Linked DNA regions of Homo sapiens: region 2 is linked to region 1. Evidence: promoter capture Hi-C in 16 types of primary human blood cells and fetal thymus (Javierre and others, 2016). All regions are on one chromosome and are shown on one strand. The core of a region is centred on a gene start or on the middle of the fragment in contact, and the rest is flanking DNA. Distances in the headings are between cores, read along the strand shown. Region 1 holds the start of OR56B4 (olfactory receptor family 56 subfamily B member 4). Region 2 holds the start of OR52B2 (olfactory receptor family 52 subfamily B member 2).

Region 1 (6,175 bases), core at 585-3,084:
TAGAAACTGTGCTGTCAGGGGGCAAGTTCTATAATTTCCAGTGCCTGAGTTTTCTTAGCTGGAAATTGGGAATAATATTGTACCTGCCCAAAGGGTTATTGTGAGAATTGAGTCAGATAATCTACATACATATTTTATCAAAGTTTCTGGCCTACAAGAAGTATTTAACACTTGTTAACCATTAATTCATTAATTATTGAGATTTTTTTGGGTACGAAAATTAAACTTTACTCCTTTTTAATAAACATTTATTGTTTACTTTTTATTATAAAAATTACATATGAAAAGCACATAAATATGTAAGAGTTAAATATGTGTAAATATTAAAGGCTTTGTTTTCTATTATTAGTCATATTATAATGATTTTTATGAATAACTTTTTGACTGCATTTAGACTATTTCTTTTGGATATTTTTCTAAAATAGAATTACTGGTTAAGAACATTTAAACATTTATAAACATTTTGATAAATTTTACCAAATTGCTTTTTGGTGTGTTTATAGTCCTACCAGTTGTGTAGGAAAGTGTTAATCTCGGGGTAGGCTAGCAGTAATAGTTAGAAACATTTCACTTTTTTGTTCTTACTTATTTTCCAGGTAATAGGAAATTTTCTTGTAATTTTAATATACATATTTTGATTAGTGAGGCTGACAGTTTTCATGATTTTATTGGCCATTTTTTTCCTAGGGAGTGTGGTAAGTGCAGATTATAACCCTGATCTATTGAGAACTAAAACCTCTGTCATTTCCTAACATCTTACTGGATTCCTAAAGCTGGAGTTACTTGGACACGTCCTGACCCAGTCCAAGCAGTCTCTGAAAGCCCAGTCTGAGTTTGTGCATCCTGAGTGCACAGGCCAGGGGGTTGAGTGCAGGGGGGATGACATTGTGCAGCACATTAAGGAACACAGGAATAAGGGGAATCTTTTTCTCTGCAAGGTGTGTGACAGACAGCACAATGATACCTGTGTGGAAGAGGATGAGGATGAGGTGGGAGCTACAAGTGCTCAGAGCCTTGGACATTGCTTCTGCTGAGTTCAGCCTCAGCACAGAGTGAAGGATTACAGCATAGGAAGAAAATACCAGAGCCATATCACTCCCAACCAAGACCCATGCTAGCATCAGTTGGTAAAATTTGTTCACAGTGATGTCATCACAAGCCAGGCTGATAACCCCCAAGTTAGAGCAGAGGCAGTGCTCGATTTCATTCCTGGAACAGTAGTGTCTCTGGGCAGCCAGTATAGGCACTGGGATGGTCAACAGGCCATTCCTGAGCATGATGAACCCTGTGGCTTTGAAGACAAAAGCTTTAGTGACTATGGAGGGGTACTGAAGAGGGCGACAGATGGCTATGTATCTGTCTACTGCCATGCAGAGAAAGATGCCTGACTCTATGCAGAAGAAGCAGTGGATGGCATAGATCTGAGCAAAACACATGGGGAGGCTAATGGCCTTGGCATCAAACCAGAAGATGGCCAGGATCTTGGGCATGATGGTGGTGGCCAGGCCAATGTCCACCACTGCTAATATGCCCAGCAAATGGTACATGGGTTCATGTAGCACGGTCTCATGTTGAATGGTGATTATGATGAGGAGATTGGCACCAAGAGCTAAGAGGTAGAGCAGAGTCAGGGGCAGGGAGAGCCAGTGCTGCCACTCATGAATGCCTGGTAATCCCATCAGGATGAACTGGGAAATCTGGAGGCTGGAGTCATAGGTAACACTGGTGGAGGTATCCATGGAATGGGTGCCTCAGTCTCAGTGTCTGTCTGAAATAGAAGAAATCTCTGTTTAAAAGTTCAGCTAAGGGGCTGAGCATCGTGGTTCATGCCTGTAATCCCAGCACTTTGGGAGGCTGAGACAGGCAGATAATTTGAGGTCAGGAGCTCGAGACTGACCTGGCTAACATGGCAAAATCTCATCTCTGCGGAGAATACAAAAATTAGCTGGGTGTGGTGGTGCCTGTCTGTAATCCCAGCTACTTGGGAGGCTGAGGCATGAGAATCATTGAACCTGGGAGGCGGAGGTTGCCGTGAGCCGAGATTGTGCCACTGCACCCCAGCCTGGACAACAGAGTGAGACCCTGTCTTAAAAAACAAAACAAAACAAAAAGTTAAGTGTCTTGGTAAGAGCTCCTCAATAATGAACCAGCTCCTTTTATTCATGAATGACCCTCAACTTTATTTGACTTCTGGAAATATTCCACAGAGGAATAACAAAAAAAGCAAAAAAATTCTAAACAGAAGAGTTGGAATAACTATTTTTCATCACCACTTGTATGTCTAATAAGCATGTCCACATATATTAACAACAGTCTTATCACTAACAGATAACAAATGTTAGTATTTGATTTATTTCCAATTTTCTATTTTATTTTTAAACAGTCTACATCATTATCTAGAGATGATTTTGTATCTTGTTTTTGTCTTTTAGCAGTATGTGTTAAGATGTAATATAAGCACTCAAAAATTTTATTTCATGGATGAATACATTAACCAAAGACTTCACAATATTATTTAAAAAGTGTGATGTTAATTTTAATTGCTGCTTTAAATTTTTGCATTTGGCTATTCTATAATTTACTGACAGGTATTTTGCTTTTAATATTGTTTTCCTTGAGTAGAGTTTCAAAAGTGATGCAAAAATTATATATACAAAGGATATAATAGTCTTAAAATTTTAAATATAATTTTGATTTTATTTTAAGATATATTATCTATACATGGTAAAAATCAAAATAAAATGAAAAATATAAACAATGAAAAGTAAGACTCTCATGCTTGGGGCTTTGAAATCTTTTTCCTTTTCACTAGAGGCAGCCAGTAATATGTTTCTTGGGAATCCTTCCATTAATAGTTTATGCATGGATAAAAACATATATATATATATATATATATATATATAATTTTCATAAAAGACATAATCAATTGTTAGCACACCTTTCTCCTTTTTTCTTTCCTTTTCTTTTTTAACTTAATATTTTGAAGACTGCTCCATATTTCCATACTGCAGTTAAGTTGCATTATTTTCTACCACCTAGATGCCCTATAGTTTAATGATTTTTTTTTGTATTTTTAGAATTGATATATCATATTTGTAGATATTTTGGAGGTACATGTGATATTTTGATACATGTATACAATGTGTAATGATCGAATCAGTGTAATTAGGATATCCATCACCTCAAGCATTTATCTTTTCTTTGTGTTAGGAACATTGCAATTCTCTTTTAGCGATTTTGAAACATACAGTAAATTATTAACTATAATTTTCCTACTGTGCTATTGAATACTAGAACTTATTTCTTCCACCTAACTGTATTTTTGTCCCCATCAGCCACCCTCTATTCTTCCCCTACCCCCACCCTTTCCGGCCTCTGGTAACCACCATTCTATTCATTACTTCTGTGAGATCCACTTTTTTTCTTTTTCCGGCTCACTGCAAACTCCACCTCCCAGGTTCAAGCGATTCTCCTGCCTCAGCCTCCCGAGTAGCTGGGATTACAGGTGTGTGCCACCACACCCGGCTAATTTTTGTATTTTTAGTAGAGATGGGGTTTCACCATGTTGGCGAGGCTGGTCTCAAACTCCTGACCTCAGGTGATCTGCCTGCCTTGGCCTCCCAAAGTGCTGGGATTACAGGCGTGAGCCACCGTGCCCAGCTGAGATCCACTTTTTAAGCTCCCAAACATGTGTAGGAACATGTAATATTTGTCTTTCTCTACTTGATTTATTTCACTTAACACAATAACCTCCAGTTCCATTCATGTTTCTGCAAATGACAGGATTTTATTCCTTTTTGTGGCTGAATAATAGGCCACTGTGTGTGTGTGTGCGTATCACATTGGATATATATATACACTCTCTATACTATATACAGTGTGTGTATATATAGTGTGTATGTATCTATATATATCTCTCTCTATATATCTCATATTTTCTTTATCCATTCATCCATTCATGAACACTTAGGTTGATTCCATATGTTCGCTATTGTGAATAGTGCTGCAATAAACATGACAGTGCAGATATCTCTTCTATTTACTGATTTCCTTTCTTTTGGATATAAACCCAGCAGTGAAGTTGCTGTACCATATGGTAGTTCTCTTTTTAGTTTTTTTGACGAACCTCCATATTGTTTTCCATAATGGCTGTACTACTTTACAATCCCACCAACAGTGTACAAACATTCCCCTTTCTCTGCACCTTTGCTTGCACTTTCATATTTTTGATAATAGCCATTCTAACTGGAATGAGATGATATCTCTTGTGGTTTCGATTTTCATTTCCCCAATGATTAGTGATGTTGAGCAGTTTTTAATATAGCTATTCACCATTTGTATGTCTTCTTTTGACATATCTGTTCAGATATTCTGCTTTTTTTTTTTTTTTTTTTTTTGAGACGGAGTCTTGCTCTGTCGCCCAGGCTGGAGTGCAGTGGCACAATCTGGGCTCACTGCAAGCTCTGCCTCTGGCCTCAGCCTCCCCAGTAGCTGGGACTACAGGCGCCCACCACCATGCTTGGCTAATTTTTTGTATTTTGGGTTTCACTCTGTTAGCCAGAATGGTCTCAATCTCCTGACCTAGTGATCCACCCGCCTCGGCTTCCCAAAGTGCTGGAATTACAGGCGTGAGCCACCGCACCCAGCCTCTGCTTCCTTTTTAGTTGGATTATCTGTTTTTTTCTAGTGAGTTTCATATATATTCTGGTTATTAATCCCTTGTCAGAGATTTTGCAAATATTTTCTCCCTTTCTCTCCTCATAAATTGTTTTTCTTTCAGTAAACATGTGAGTTTGAAACAGAAGGAAGTTTGCAAGAAAACATCAAAAAGTTATCAGACATGTTTCTTCCTCCAATAGGTGTCAGTTGGCCCACGGAAAAATCCACCCATAAAAAGTAAATGTAAGCTCACTTTCTTAAAGATTCTGTAGGTTGTATATTTGTTGGGCTTTTAATCTGTTTCCAGCATTTTCTACTATAAAAAATGAAGCTGTGAATGTACTTTTTCTTGTATCTTTATGCATATGTATAAGTTTCTCCACATAATAATTTCCAAGAACTGAACTGCTGGGTCAAATGGAATGAAACGATATTGATTTGACAAGACAAATTGTCTTTTAAAGAGGTTATTCTGACCCTGTATGAAAGTATGGGGATTTTGAATGCTCTTGATGTATACTAAAATGATGTATACTAAAATAGGTACATTGTAGTACTTTACACACACAGAATTTGTTCATGAGTGTGTCTGTTTCATCATGTCCATGCCAAAACTGGGAATTTTAATTTAAAATATTTATTAATTATTCTATTAATATAATAGAATGAAAATTGATATATCAATTTTGTTTTAGTGTTCACTTCATTGTTTAGTAAATTTTAATTTTCAAGCACTCATTTTCCATTTATAAGCTTACTCATTAATTTTCTATTTTATCTTATTGTCTATTTGTTATTTATCCAATTTGTCTTGTAGTACTAAAGAAAATAATGTTTTTAAAGTGCTTACCATTGCAGTATATACTACTTGGGTGATGGATGCACCAAAATCTCAGAAATTACCACTAAAGAACTTATCCATGTAACCAAACACCACCAGTTCCCCCAAAACTATTAAAATATTAACAATAAAAATAAAAATAGTAAAGTGCTTACCATGGAGTCTGGCAGCACAACCTTATTAATATGTATGAGTTTCACTATATCTTGAGAATATGACTTCTTTTTAAAGATTATTATGGTTAAGAATTTTATTATCAAAATTATTACATCTCAGAAAGTTCAAATGTTACAGCAATGTGTAAACACTCCACATGAGAAAAAAGAGCTACTTCTTCACTCCCAAAAGTTCCCCCCACCTCCTTTGCCCTGACCTCCCCCTGGAAATTTGGTCTTGACAGCACCCTGCCCACACAGAGTGGCTGGGGTCTCTGTCACTGCTAGGCAGGGTGAGGTCCGCTTGCCCACTGGCCTCTCCCTTTGGTTAACAGCCAAGGGTACAATGCAAACCCCAGCCCAAATGAAGAGACATTTACATACATTTTATATAATATAGCATCCCAAGCAGCATGATTTCTTCTTCCAATGCTCTCCCAGACTGATGGGTTTGTGGGGGAAACAAAAAGAAAAGTACTCTGCTGAGCATTAAAAAAAAAAACAACTCCCCTCATTTGAG
Region 2 (6,806 bases), core at 1,393-3,892, 63 kb before region 1:
CCCCCTCCCCAGGTATCCACATCTTACAAATAAAAAAACTGAGGCATGCAGAAGTAAAGTGACTTGCCCAAGATCTAGTTAGTTAGGGAAGAACTGGGAAATGAATGCAGAAAGTCTGGCTCCGGAACTTAATATCTACACCTTCTTTGTTGTGTTCTTTCCCAGCTAGCTTGGCTCCTGCTCCATCTCTACTATTCTGGCTCTTTTTTTTCTCGCTCAGCTGGATGTTCTCTTGGGAGCTCTGGGAGGTACTTCTGGGAGACGTTGGATATTCCTCTTTTTGCCTGTGAGTTTCCTTTCTTCTCACCCTTAACTCTTTCCTAAATGAGGCTCGAACGCTCCAAAGGTGCTTGACAGAGGAGCAGCAGGGCTTTGATGGAGCTCTAAGACGCCACTGGATAAAATGAAAGTCCTTCTTTCCATGGGCAGTAACCTCCTTTCCAGGACCTCATTAACAGCCATCTAGGCCTCATTGCCCCTCTCTCCACCCTGCCTTTGGTACTCACTGTTGGAGTGATAAAACATCACAGAGTCATAAGCAGAGAGCAGACTTGTTTTGATGAGGACGTATATCAGGTGTCTTACTGTTTTATTGAGAAGGAGTATGTTAATAACTGGAGGGGTTGGGAAAGTTGTGAGAAAATAAATGTCCAATAAATTTCCTCCTAAGGAAAATGAATTTGTTTTTTTTGCTGGGGCTTTTGCTTGTATAAATTTGAGTTCAATACTTTAAAATAGAGCCAGAGCAGTGCTACTAATGACTTCTTCTCTGTGCTCATTCCAGCAAAGCTCAGCCTCTCTTCTAAGTAGAAGTTGAACATACATATATACACACGCACATATATATATACATATATGTGTACATATAATATGTATTTTATATATATACATATATGTATATATATATATTTTAAAGAGACAGAGTCTTGCTCCATCACCTAGGCTGGAGTGCAGTGGTGCCATCATAGCTCATTCACTGCAGCCCCAAACTCCTGGGCTCAAGAGATCCTCCTGCCTCCGCCTCCAAGTAGCTGGGACTACAGGTGCGTGCCACCATTCCCGGCTAATTTTTAAATTGTTTTGTAGCGACAGGGTCTTGTTATGTTACCTAGGCAGGTCTTGAATACCTGGCCTCAAGCGATCCTCCCATCTTGGCCTCCCAAACTTCTGGGATTATAGGCATGAGACACTGTGCCTGGCCCAAATATTTAAAATATACTGACTTGAATGCTGTCAGATTATTAGCCTGCCTGCGGCCTTTACTTGTCTGGATCTGGCTCTATTCCCTTCCTTGTACCCATCTGGAGTCCCATTGCTCCCTCCCCACAGCCCACTGTGCTCTGAGAAAGTTCATTTGCATAGAGGCAGAGGGATGGACTAATAAACTGAGGATTTGATTCCTTTGCATCTCTTCTTTGGGGCCCTCTGAATACCATTATCAGAAGATCAGTCTAGTGTTTATTTGGTACCTTTATAGTTCTGATTCTCTCTTTACTGTCTCTGTGGTCCCTTTTCTTCATGTTCCCTTCTAGATTCTTAATCATACACTCTTTCCCTAGTCCTAATAGCTGACAGATAGTTCAGAACTTCAGAATGAAACAAATATTACCTGAGTGGCAGGCAAGCCAAGAAGGGCTCTATACTTAATCCTTCTTGGCAGCAGGGAAACATGGTTCCTTCTGAGCGTTGGGGAACAGTGGGGTGGGAAGAAGGGCAGTATTAGTGGAGTCAGCAGAGTTTACAGGTGGGCAATAGATTGATTTCTTTTGCTCAGAATCGTTTTCCTGGGGGGCTTCTACAGATAAGGAAGCCCAGACATAACCAAGAGGCTCCTGTATAGAAATATTTGAGGAGGAGCATGAGAAGTCCATGAGGAGCTGGTGATGAAAATTGCCTGTCTCAGTTTCATTGGCTGCCCCATTGCTCACTGCATTAGGGAAGATATGAATCTGGATCAGAGTGGAGAAATGTACCCCTCTAGGCTTCCTCTGGATTCCCACTTGATACTCTACTCCCTTGCACAAGGGGCCAGAGGTGCAAGTGTCCTGTGAAATGTTCAAGGCAATAGCCAGATAAACTTAATAGGATTAAATATAACCCAGTTAAAATATAGTTTAGTTAATAGTTTTTTAGGAAGGAGATATATTGCTATGAACACAGACCATTACAAAGTGGTATGTCTTGAGGACTTATTTTAAGGTTAAAATTTTGTTAAACAGAAGTAGAAGGGGAGGGAAATTAAAGGTAAATGCAGAACAAAATCTTGGGGAAAGGGACAAGTACAACACAGGTAGGTGGAAAATGCTGCTTGTGTGGAAATAGTAGAATGAGGTCAGAAAGGGAGAGTGAGGCCAAACTCTGGGGGCAGGGTGGTTGCAGGAAGGTGCTGCCACTTCTGTTCATACTTGAAGCATTATTGCCACAGAAGCTCTATCTGCAAAGGAAGCACTATGGGCCAGAAGCCATTCCTATACCAAGTGAACATTCTCTGGGAGTACTTGCTGCTGGAGAGTCCAGCAATTTAGAAATCCATGCTGTCTTTTATGATATTTATACATATTCGGGAGTGCTTTCTGTTTCTATCACTTTCAGTAGACTCATCAGCTTCTAAGTCATTATAGAGAGGACCATAAAGTGCATCATGAGTCACACCAATGTTACCATCTTCCATCCTGCAGTTTTTGTCCTTCCTGGCATCCCTGGGTTGGAGGCTTATCACATTTGGCTGTCAATACCTCTTTGCCTCATTTACATCACTGCAGTCCTGGGAAACAGCATCCTGATAGTGGTTATTGTCATGGAACGTAACCTTCATGTGCCCATGTATTTCTTCCTCTCAATGCTGGCCGTCATGGACATCCTGCTGTCTACCACCACTGTGCCCAAGGCCCTAGCCATCTTTTGGCTTCAAGCACATAACATTGCTTTTGATGCCTGTGTCACCCAAGGCTTCTTTGTCCATATGATGTTTGTGGGGGAGTCAGCTATCCTGTTAGCCATGGCCTTTGATCGCTTTGTGGCCATTTGTGCCCCACTGAGATATACAACAGTGCTAACATGGCCTGTTGTGGGGAGGATTGCTCTGGCCGTCATCACCCGAAGCTTCTGCATCATCTTCCCAGTCATATTCTTGCTGAAGCGGCTGCCCTTCTGCCTAACCAACATTGTTCCTCACTCCTACTGTGAGCATATTGGAGTGGCTCGTTTAGCCTGTGCTGACATCACTGTTAACATTTGGTATGGCTTCTCAGTGCCCATTGTCATGGTCATCTTGGATGTTATCCTCATCGCTGTGTCTTACTCACTGATCCTCCGAGCAGTGTTTCGTTTGCCCTCCCAGGATGCTCGGCACAAGGCCCTCAGCACTTGTGGCTCCCACCTCTGTGTCATCCTTATGTTTTATGTTCCATCCTTCTTTACCTTATTGACCCATCATTTTGGGCGTAATATTCCTCAACATGTCCATATCTTGCTGGCCAATCTTTATGTGGCAGTGCCACCAATGCTGAACCCCATTGTCTATGGTGTGAAGACTAAGCAGATACGTGAGGGTGTAGCCCACCGGTTCTTTGACATCAAGACTTGGTGCTGTACCTCCCCTCTGGGCTCATGAATCTTCATGTCCAGCTCCTTCAAGGAAGCTAGATGTGAAATACAGAGATTTCCTGGACTGAGAAGGCTTTTCTTCCTCTTCTTTCTATTTCATCTTCCGCCCCCAACTTTTCTTTCTTTTCTCATAATTCTTCCTCCTTCTCTTGTTTGTTTTCTCTAACCTCTTTACATATTCCTCCCTACAACCCAGAAATAATAACTAAGTGTACATGCCTCTGATATGAGGCTTTGGTACCCTCAGTAGACTAGATAGACGCCAGAAGCGCAGGGATCTGAACACCACATGAAATGAGGTTATAAAGAAGTGGATAAAAATAATTTTATATTTACCATTTTAAGGGGTTTTAATTTTTTAAAAAAATCCCAAATGTGCATTGATTCTTTGTACAGAATCAAGTGGCCTGCCACCCACTACCACAATGGCAGGTGAGTTTGAGGAACAGCCATGCATGACCTTTGGTCATCTGGAAAAACTTCCTTTCCTTCAAATTTTAGTTCAAGAAAAGTTGAGTCTTTTCTAATTTCTCCAGGCAAGCCAAGGGTCCTATGTTTGCATGTCTAGTGTATCTTGTACAAATCTCCAAATGTGCATAATAAATTGTAATGTAATGAGTTGTTCATTTATTTGTACCCTCAATTGACTGCAAACTCCTTGAAATCAGAAGAGTGTATATTATTCATATTTGTATCCCCAATGCATTACAAAATGCCTGACACATACTACATTTTTGAAAAATGAATGGGAGCGCAATTATCTCCTTGAGATCAGAACAGGCATCTCTATGGTACACTGAAATGACCAGCTAAATTATTTCACAAAACCAGTGATTAGTAAATCAGCTCCTCATGAAGGCAGTTTGGCATAATTGAGCCAAATCAACTGCTGATTTGCAGTACTTCTCTCTGCTGTAACTCAGGGACCAGCGAAAAGACAAAGTAGGAGGAAACAGGGTACTCTTGATTCTCTCTTATATCTAGTTTTTGACCAGACCCAGAATTAGGAATTATAGTACATTGTTCATGGCCAGGTTGGCAAAATTGGAGTACTCTCTTGGGATTCACAGTCTCAACTCTTATTCTTTTATGCTTTTCCAGAAAAGGTCATGTACACTCATTTCTTTAGCCACCACCAACACTAATGAGTCCCATATCCCTGTCTCTAGTCTAAAGCTCTCTTTTGAGTGTTAGACACATAAATCCACCTATTAACTGGTTATTCTTCCTAGGATGTAGAACTCCCACTCCACTTTTCTTCCTACATTTCATTTCTTGGGAACTAGATTATGATGATCCCATCAACTTCACTGAGCTGGAAACCCTATAGTCTTTTTCAACTTTCTCCTCTTAGGGCTGATACTCAAAAAGTTATTGGTTGATATTTATATTGATTGTACCACTAAATAAGTATATGGATAGTATTTGGACTCATATCAGGACTCAAGTCTTGTCATCATCATTTTCTAGCTATGCGAACTTGCACAGTTTGTTTAACATTTTTGGTTCTCAATTTTTAAATCTATAAAATGGGTACTTTATAGGTTACCTTCACAGGGTTATTTAGAAGATTAAATGAAATAAACCTTATGACTATACTTAACATAATCTTTAGCTCATAGTTTCTGAGAAATATTTTGTTAATACTTACTAGTATTGTTAGTCTTTTCAACACTGCCTATACAAATTACTTATGACTTTTCTCATCTTTCACTTCAGATATTGCATTACTTTCTTAGCTGAGATCAATGTTTTCAATCTTTTACGCATTAGCCTAAACTATGAAATGACTCTACATTAAATTTTCTAAAAGACAGAGCTTATCAAGGCACTTTCTGTCAAATACTTTGGAGGGTTTTTCATTAATTACAGAGAGTTTTCCACAGAATATTCTGTAGCAGTAGATATCAGATATAAATAAATGTTTTATTAAAAAGTTTCATGGTCAGATAATTGTGGAAAATGCTGATATTCTGTGAGTCATGCACATGGCTGTCCAAGAGAAAGTTAGAGTCAGCAGTGTTCCCCACACTTCTGTGACCGTAGATATCTATATCAATGTCCACATAATTTTGGCATAATTTTGATAAGCATATAAATTTACATCTGTAAAATAAACTAGTGTTCCATTAGACATAGTTTGGAAATCACAGGACTACATAGTAAGTTCTAAGCTAAGCATTAATTTAATAATCTTGTCCTAACTTATTTTCCATCTCTATCACAAAACATACTACATAATAACACAAAATATTAACATGATAATATTAATGATAACAATATTACAATAACAGCTGTTTATTTTATTTAAAAAAAATTAAATCACCTTAAGCATTTATATTTTGACAAACGATCCAATTATACTCTTTTATTTATTTACTTTTTGAGACAGAGTCTTGCTCTGTCACTGAGGCTGGAGTGCAGTGTTGTGATCTCGGCTCACTGCAACCTTTACCTCCCAGGTTAAGCAATTCTCATGCCTCAGCCTCCCAGGTAGCTGGGACTACAGGCACCCATCACCATGTCTGGCTAAGTTTTTGTATTTTTAATAGAGATGGGTTTCACCATGTTGCCCAGGGTGGTCTTGAACTCCTGAGCTCAGGCAATCTACCCGCCTTGGCCTCCCAAAGTGCTAGGATTACAGGCGTGAGCCACTGAGACTGGCCCAATTATACTTTTAGTTATTTTAAAATGTGCAATTAAATTATTACTGACTATAGTCACCCTGTTTTGCTAGCAGATACTAGGTCTTATTCATTCATTCTATTTTTTTTTTTTTGTACCCGTTAACTATCCCCACTATCCTTCCCAGCCTCTGGTAACCATCCTTCTCTCTATCTCCATGAGTTCAATTGTTTTAATTTTTAGCTCCCACATGAGAACATGCTAAGTTTGTCCTTCTGTGGTGGGCTTATTTCACTTAACATAATGAACTCCAGTTTCATCCATGCTATTGCAAATGACAGGATCTCATTTTTTTTATGGCTTACTAGTACTCCATTGTGTATATGTACCACATTTCCTTTATCCATTCACCTGTTGATGGACACTTAGGTTGCTTCCAAATCTTGGCTATTGTGAATAGGGCTGCAGATATGGGAGTGCAGATATCTCTTTGATATACTGATTTTCTTTCTTTTGGGTATATATAGGAGTGGGATTGCTGGATCATATAGTAGCTCTATTTTCAGTTTTTTGAG

What was found. Contacts are between HindIII fragments. The CHiCAGO score rates a contact against its expected background, and 5 or more counts as called.
Region 2: a contact is called between the fragment with the promoter of OR52B2 here and the fragment with the promoter of OR56B4 in region 1, in 17 of 17 cell types (monocytes, neutrophils, M2 macrophages and 14 more). The highest score is 19.0, in monocytes.

The regions. Positions count from the first base shown.
Region 1 is chr11:6,103,343-6,109,517 of GRCh38, reverse strand. It overlaps OR56B4 (olfactory receptor family 56 subfamily B member 4), which reads right to left and starts at 1,834. Exons shown (of 1, transcript NM_001005181.2): 1 at 683-1,834. The coding sequence starts at 1,739. The coding sequence ends at 780. It overlaps LOC124902622 (a long non-coding RNA gene), which reads left to right. Exons shown (of 3, transcript XR_007062565.1): 3 at 4,781-5,531. The HindIII fragment of the contact is 4,106 bases long and covers 1,309-5,414 here.
Region 2 is chr11:6,166,162-6,172,967 of GRCh38, reverse strand. It overlaps OR52B2 (olfactory receptor family 52 subfamily B member 2), which reads left to right and starts at 2,642. Exons shown (of 1, transcript NM_001004052.1): 1 at 2,642-3,613. The coding sequence starts at 2,642. The coding sequence ends at 3,613. The HindIII fragment of the contact is 5,039 bases long and covers 1-3,104 here.